2 separate regions of the Homo sapiens genome follow, and region 1 is linked to region 2. The links are contacts of gene promoters, found by promoter capture Hi-C in blood cells and fetal thymus (Javierre and others, 2016). All regions are on one chromosome and are shown on one strand. Each heading gives the region's core, a stretch centred on a gene start or on the middle of the fragment in contact. The rest is flanking DNA. Distances are from core to core; before and after follow the strand shown.

Region 1 (2,902 bases), core at 158-2,657, 2.6 Mb after region 2:
GTGATTTTTCTTTTCTTCTTGATTCCTTTCAGGATATTCCAAGTTTTCTATAAAGAATATGCTTTACTTTTACAACTAGGGAAAGAAAGACAGAAAAATATATATAACATTTAAAGGGCAAAACAATATAGCTGTTTATTTTACAGGCTAAAATATCAAGATGAAAAGCTCTGATCCCAAATCATCCATTTTACCTATATTCTGTCACTTTTACTAAAAGCAGAGTTCTACTCATCCCAGTGAAAAAAACAATGAATTAAAAGTAATTTCTGGCGTTAACCCAAGTACCGAGTTAAGACTCCTTAAGAATATAGAATTATGTAATCAACTTAGATAATTCAAAGCCCAATGATATAACTAAGTTCTTTGACGATTGAGCACACATTGTTTCCTTACTTATCTTTAAACATTCCTAGTCCAATTACTCCCTAGCATAATACCATTTATAAATGAGGATGAGTTTACAATGGTTTCTGTAACCAAAAAGTATTTCTAATATCTGTCCTCTGCCACATATTTTTAAATTATCTTTTCCATTAGCAGAAATGGGCAACATAAGCAATAAATCATGTTAAGTCTGTTGCTACAAATTTACTTTGCCAAAATTTTTGTTCAGAGGGCAGATATCTGCATTATTTAAGGACATTTAGTCATTTGTAGCTAACACCTGAAGTAAACTACCCTCAATCAATTTTTATATTTCAGTCTAGTCACTGTAGACAAACTATTTAAATCTTTTATAATTTACTTTGTGTAGTTATTTGGCTTAAAAAAAAAAAAAGAGGGCTCACATTCTATTTAAATTAAGACAATATATTTTATAAAGCCCAAATTATAGTACACTAAGAGCCAGAGGGGTCTAGGGAATTGATCTCAGTGGGTATACAGCAAAGACAAAATTTGGAGGCAGACGCTAAAGGAAGTTGAGATAAATAAAATTCAAATCAGTGTATTAACAGAACTACACAAATGTTTACAACACAGTAACTACACTTTTCAATTAGTTCATTGTGAAAACTGAGCAAAATATTTTCAACAATTTTGGGTCAACAAAAAGTATGGAATATTTTAAGACAATAAAGAGTGACTGGTGTTGAGAGTACTGAGGCTACACAGAGGTACTGAAATTCAAATCTGAAAAATACTGTGCTGGCCACACAACACTACAAATTTCTAATGGAAGAATTCCCTTTTTGATCCGCAGCTTAGGTGGTAAGTAAATAAAAAAACAGCTCAGAAAAACAGCAAAAATATTAACATTTAGGAGTCTCAAAACTTTGTATTGGCTGTGAGTCTGGGGGAAAAAAACATAAATGTCATACTACCAATTAAACTTTCAAGAGTCATCAGATTATTTAGCTTTAAAATTTTACTAAATCAGACCTTAAACTACACATTCAAAATGCTGAACTAGATAATCACATATTAAAAAGGTAATGACTCATTATCAGTGAATTACCCAGTCTGTTCTATCAAAGTAGTAGTTAAGGTCACCAAATAATGTTGGTGCCTTTGGTTCTGGAATTATAACTAGCTGTACTGTAGGAGCATCAGCGCCTAAGTTTTAAGCCAGTGGGAATACTCTGCTGCCTGGCTTCACAGGCACTGAATACACTTAAAATGGTAAGAAACTGAATGGATTTAATAAGTTTTGAATAATACAATAACCAACTGTATATTTATTATGAAGTAAAAGCCAATCTCCTACCCAATCCCTCTTCTATCAGCTGCACATTTCCAAGTAAGTGAGATAAAATGACTCAATCTAAACCACGTGAAGGAATGTATTAACATAATCCAACAAAAATGAAATAAAACAATCCAGAGTTTTGAGTGTTTTTTCACACTTGTAATAAACTGAAAAAATATTTCAATTAAAACAACCATATGCCACAAAAAGCCACTCCCATCATCCACAATACTAAAGTCCTTATACAACACTAGATAAATTTTTATATAAAACAGTAGAAACTAGCATACCATTAATTAGAAACCTCAAAATATTCAGAAAACAGTATCAAGTACTCAAGAGAAAGCTCAAGAAGCCAAAACCTCAAGAATCCATACATCCTGGTTGTTACCCTAAATTGTAATTAACTACCCACACATTTAATCATAATCAACTTTTTCAAAGATATACAAATCAATGCATCTATTTAAAAGGACTACTCTTTATAGTTCAGAACTTTACATTAACTTTTATATTCTACTCAGCAGGGTGTCTGTCTGTACTCCAAATTAGCTCTCATGTTCCAGGAAATAAATACAAACTCATATGCCTTGTGATCACTGATGGCCTGCTTATGTAATTCTAGTCCACTAAATGTTAATTCCATAGAATATGCTCTTGATTATGTAAAAACTCTAATTTCTTGATGAAATACTGTAATTCTCCAAAGGTTACAATTTTGTAAAGATATGCAATAACTGAGTATCACTCCCATGAAAGACAAAAAAAGTATAATTTTGTTCCAAGATTAACTTAGTCTCATGTATCTCTATTAAGTCTTTCAAGGATTCCAGAGAATCTTTTCATATCTCCATTTCTGGAAAGTGAAATCAGTATAGAAGTAATTTGGGAACTTGAAAATGGCATTCATTTTTTTCAGCAGATGCCAAATTTTTGACCGACATGGTTCTCACAATTACTTTGTTACCAACAGTCCAGTCAGTTAACAGGTTGTAGGAAAAGATTCGTTTTTGCAGACACTGCTAAGCTGTTCAAAGAGAAGAGAGAGAGATTAATTTAGTGATTATAAAATGCACAAATATTTAAAATATTTTGAACACTTCTTGTTGGATTATATCAGAGGTGTGACTACATTTTAACAAAAGTGGACTTTTTAAGATAAGTCTGGTCAAAGAAGTGCAGAAACAGTAAGTCAATATGATAGAAATAGTA
Region 2 (2,920 bases), core at 421-2,920:
CTAACTGTTGATCTTTTCCCAAATCCAAAAGCTGCTCATTGGCATCCCAATAAATCACTCTACTACAAAGCCCATACAATGGACTGTCCTTTGCATTCAGCATCAAGCAGCATTTAATGAAATATCACACAGCTACAACTTTGGAGACCTAAGGATCTGAATTTAAAATGAACAAAATTGGCTTAGCAGCAGAAGACAGCCAGTAAAGAATTTCGCCCATGTCTGACTCAGCTAGGAAAAGGTTTAGCATTCTAGAGTTAAGCAAATACTCTGGCATTTCTCCTTCTTTTGACATTCCAAGAGGGGGTGTGGTTGACCCCAGGCCCATTCATTTCCAAGGGTGTAGATCTCTCAGCCAAGACTGGCCCCATCTGTTGTGGAGCCAGCCAGCTGTTTATCTCAAAGTAACATATCTATTGCCCTAATTATCCCTATAACTCTTACAAGAGCATCATGTAAGTCAGAATGCTTTCTCTCCTGTTAAATGTCAGTTCGTTTAAAAAAACAACAATAACAAAACAACCAAAATCACTCTTCCATGGGCACCTTTCAGTAATGGCAAATGAAGGTTAACAGCGCTTCTAACTTTCCCTTTCTCTAATGTGTTAAAATGAACCCCTCTTCCCTAATCGATCTCTTCAAACCGTTATTTGTGAGTAGTGACTATGCCTCAGGAAACAGCAGCTCATTATGGTACCATTGTCAGTGGCAAAGAGCCTATGCAATGTAATTTAAAACACACAAGCACAAATCTGTCGGCTCCACTTCCAAACAATCTTGAATCCAGCAGTCGGAGAACGGAAAACATTTAACAAAAACGCTGCTTCCAGCAGCCTGAAAGAACCTTCGCCAGACACGTGAAATGTTTCTGACTGGCACGGAGTGCACCATTAAAGGACACTGTCACCTCAAATCAGCAGAAAAGGCGAGACAAACCACATAGACATACACACATAAAATAAAGCCCTACAAAACTTAAGCACGTTCATCTTAAAAATTAATAACTAGTGCTCGTCCAAGCGACATTCAAATGTTCTAAAGTAGTGCGACCACATTAATTCACTGTCTCCATTTCTCCCCACGCATCACCCCTTCCCACTCAAACCTCAGCTCTCGGGCCGTGTGTGACAGGACTGCAGTCCCCCACCTCTGCCTTCCTCAGATTTTCCAAGAGCACTCCCCAACATCCTTCCCAGCCCAGCCCCCTCTCTCCGCCTCAAAAAGGTTGAGAGGAGTTGCGACTAGGGAATTGGCAGGCACCCGTCCTCTGGCGGGGGAAGGTTGCTGGAGTTGTTCTTTGCAGTGACCCAAATGGCACAGAGCTTTTCCCCTTAGCTGTGCCTGCAAGCCTCTCCCCAATCCCCCCCACCTCCCCACCGCTCACAGCTTCCCAAAAGAAAGCCTTGAGAACTAAGCGGGAGGAATAACTTGGTAGAAGCATTTGAATAAATCACTTCAACTCACCTGGTTTGGGATTTTTCTCCCCACCCCAGGCATAAACAGAAATGGATGTGCGAATGAGTCACGCACGCAAGGGAAGGTCTGCGATGTCCTGAGTCCAAGGGCTGGAGTCAGTCCCTGCCCTGGTGCTGCTGCTACACTTAGCTCAGCTGGAGCGAGCGGCAATCGCAAGCCCAGCAGCAGCAGGGGGTGGAGAGACCGTAGCACAATGAATGCAGTGGGGCTTTTGCAATGACATCATCCCTCTGTCCAAACGTCCCCAATAGCCATGCTCGGGAGCGGTGCTTTCTGGGAACTGTAGTCTTCTTACGTCCTGAAGGGATACCCAGGCAATCCCCGAAACTACAATGCCCAAAATGCTCCAAGTGGGACGCGCCCAGAGTGAAGGAGCAAAGGGGACTCGGCCGCCATGTTAGGAGTACTGGGACGATTCCGCGGAGCCGGGCAGAGGTTTTAGGGGTGCGCAGGAGTCAAGTGGTGGTTCAGTGGGGACGGTGAGGTGGAGGACGATCTGGTCGGATAGCCGCGGGCACGAACCTGGGAACCAGAGGGTGGAGGCCATGCTGGGGACTGATGTAGGGCGGGACCGACTGGAAGCGGCATCCAGAGGCCCAGTGAGCCTCGGTCTCAGCTCCTGAAGGGGTTGCATGGGGCCCTACGCTTCCTTCTCCATTTTTTAGCTAAGAGATTGAGAGAGTCGGTTTACTTTTGGGCTTGGAGTATCATTTAGATCTGTTAACAGTACAGTTGAGAGAGTTGGTGTCTTTTGTTGAGGTGCGAGGACCCGAGGCGGCGACCCTCGCCTTTATTCGGAGAAGCCCACTTCCACCCACAGAGTTGGGGTAGTCCTCCGAAATGCATTTTTGTTTTGCCGTTTGTTTTCCAACCCCCTTTCACTCTCCCCAAAGCTTCAGATTCACTGATTTTTCATACAGGAATGATTAACAAAGGCGTCCGAAGAAATCGTTGTTGGAAGGTGACCAAGGTGGAAAGAGACGTTGCTTTGGCCCTGCAAGTAAGAAGAGAGAGGGAATAGCCTGAAGGAGTAACACTAAATTTAAAATGACACTTTTTTACCAACCAGCGAAAGCAGATGTTCAAAGGGGATATTGGCCAGGTGCGGTCGCTCACGCCTTTAATCCCAGCACTTTGGGGGCAGACGCGGGGAGATAGCGTGATTCTAGGAGTTCAACCCCAGCCTGGGCAACATGCGGAGACCCCGTACCGTCTCTACAAAAACATTAAACAAAAAAATTAGCTGGGCATGGTGGTGTACCCCTGTAGTTGCAGCTACACTAGAGGCTGAGGTGGGAGGATCGCTTGAGCCCGGGATGTTGAGGCTGCAGTGAGCCTCGATCCTACCACTGTGCTCCAGCCTGGGCGACAGCAAGCCCGTGTCTCAGAAAAGGCGGGAGGGGTGGGATATTATTGATGATAGGCCTTCTGACGTCTGGCAATA

What was found. Contacts are between HindIII fragments. The CHiCAGO score rates a contact against its expected background, and 5 or more counts as called.
Region 1: a fragment that was not itself captured here is called in contact with the fragment with the promoter of RAB30 in region 2 in 1 of 17 cell types (naive CD8 T cells); the score reaches 6.4 in naive CD8 T cells.

What each region holds. Positions count from the first base shown.
Region 1 is chr11:85,657,881-85,660,782 of GRCh38, forward strand. It overlaps CREBZF (CREB/ATF bZIP transcription factor), which reads right to left. Exons shown (of 1, transcript NM_001039618.4): 1 at 110-2,902. Among named protein-coding and RNA genes, the nearest start is that of CREBZF, 5.8 kb to the right of the region's middle. The HindIII fragment of the contact is 4,467 bases long and covers 1-2,902 here.
Region 2 is chr11:83,070,227-83,073,146 of GRCh38, forward strand. RAB30 (RAB30, member RAS oncogene family) reads right to left here and starts at 1,671. Exons shown (of 5, transcript NM_001286060.2): 1 at 1,465-1,671. RAB30-DT (RAB30 divergent transcript) reads left to right here and starts at 1,840. Exons shown (of 3, transcript NR_038903.1): 1 at 1,840-1,920; 2 at 2,397-2,578. It overlaps LINC02951 (long intergenic non-protein coding RNA 2951), which reads right to left. Exons shown (of 3, transcript NR_186233.1): 3 at 2,176-2,470. RefSeq lists an enhancer at 1,624-2,113. The HindIII fragment of the contact is 10,527 bases long and covers 1-2,367 here.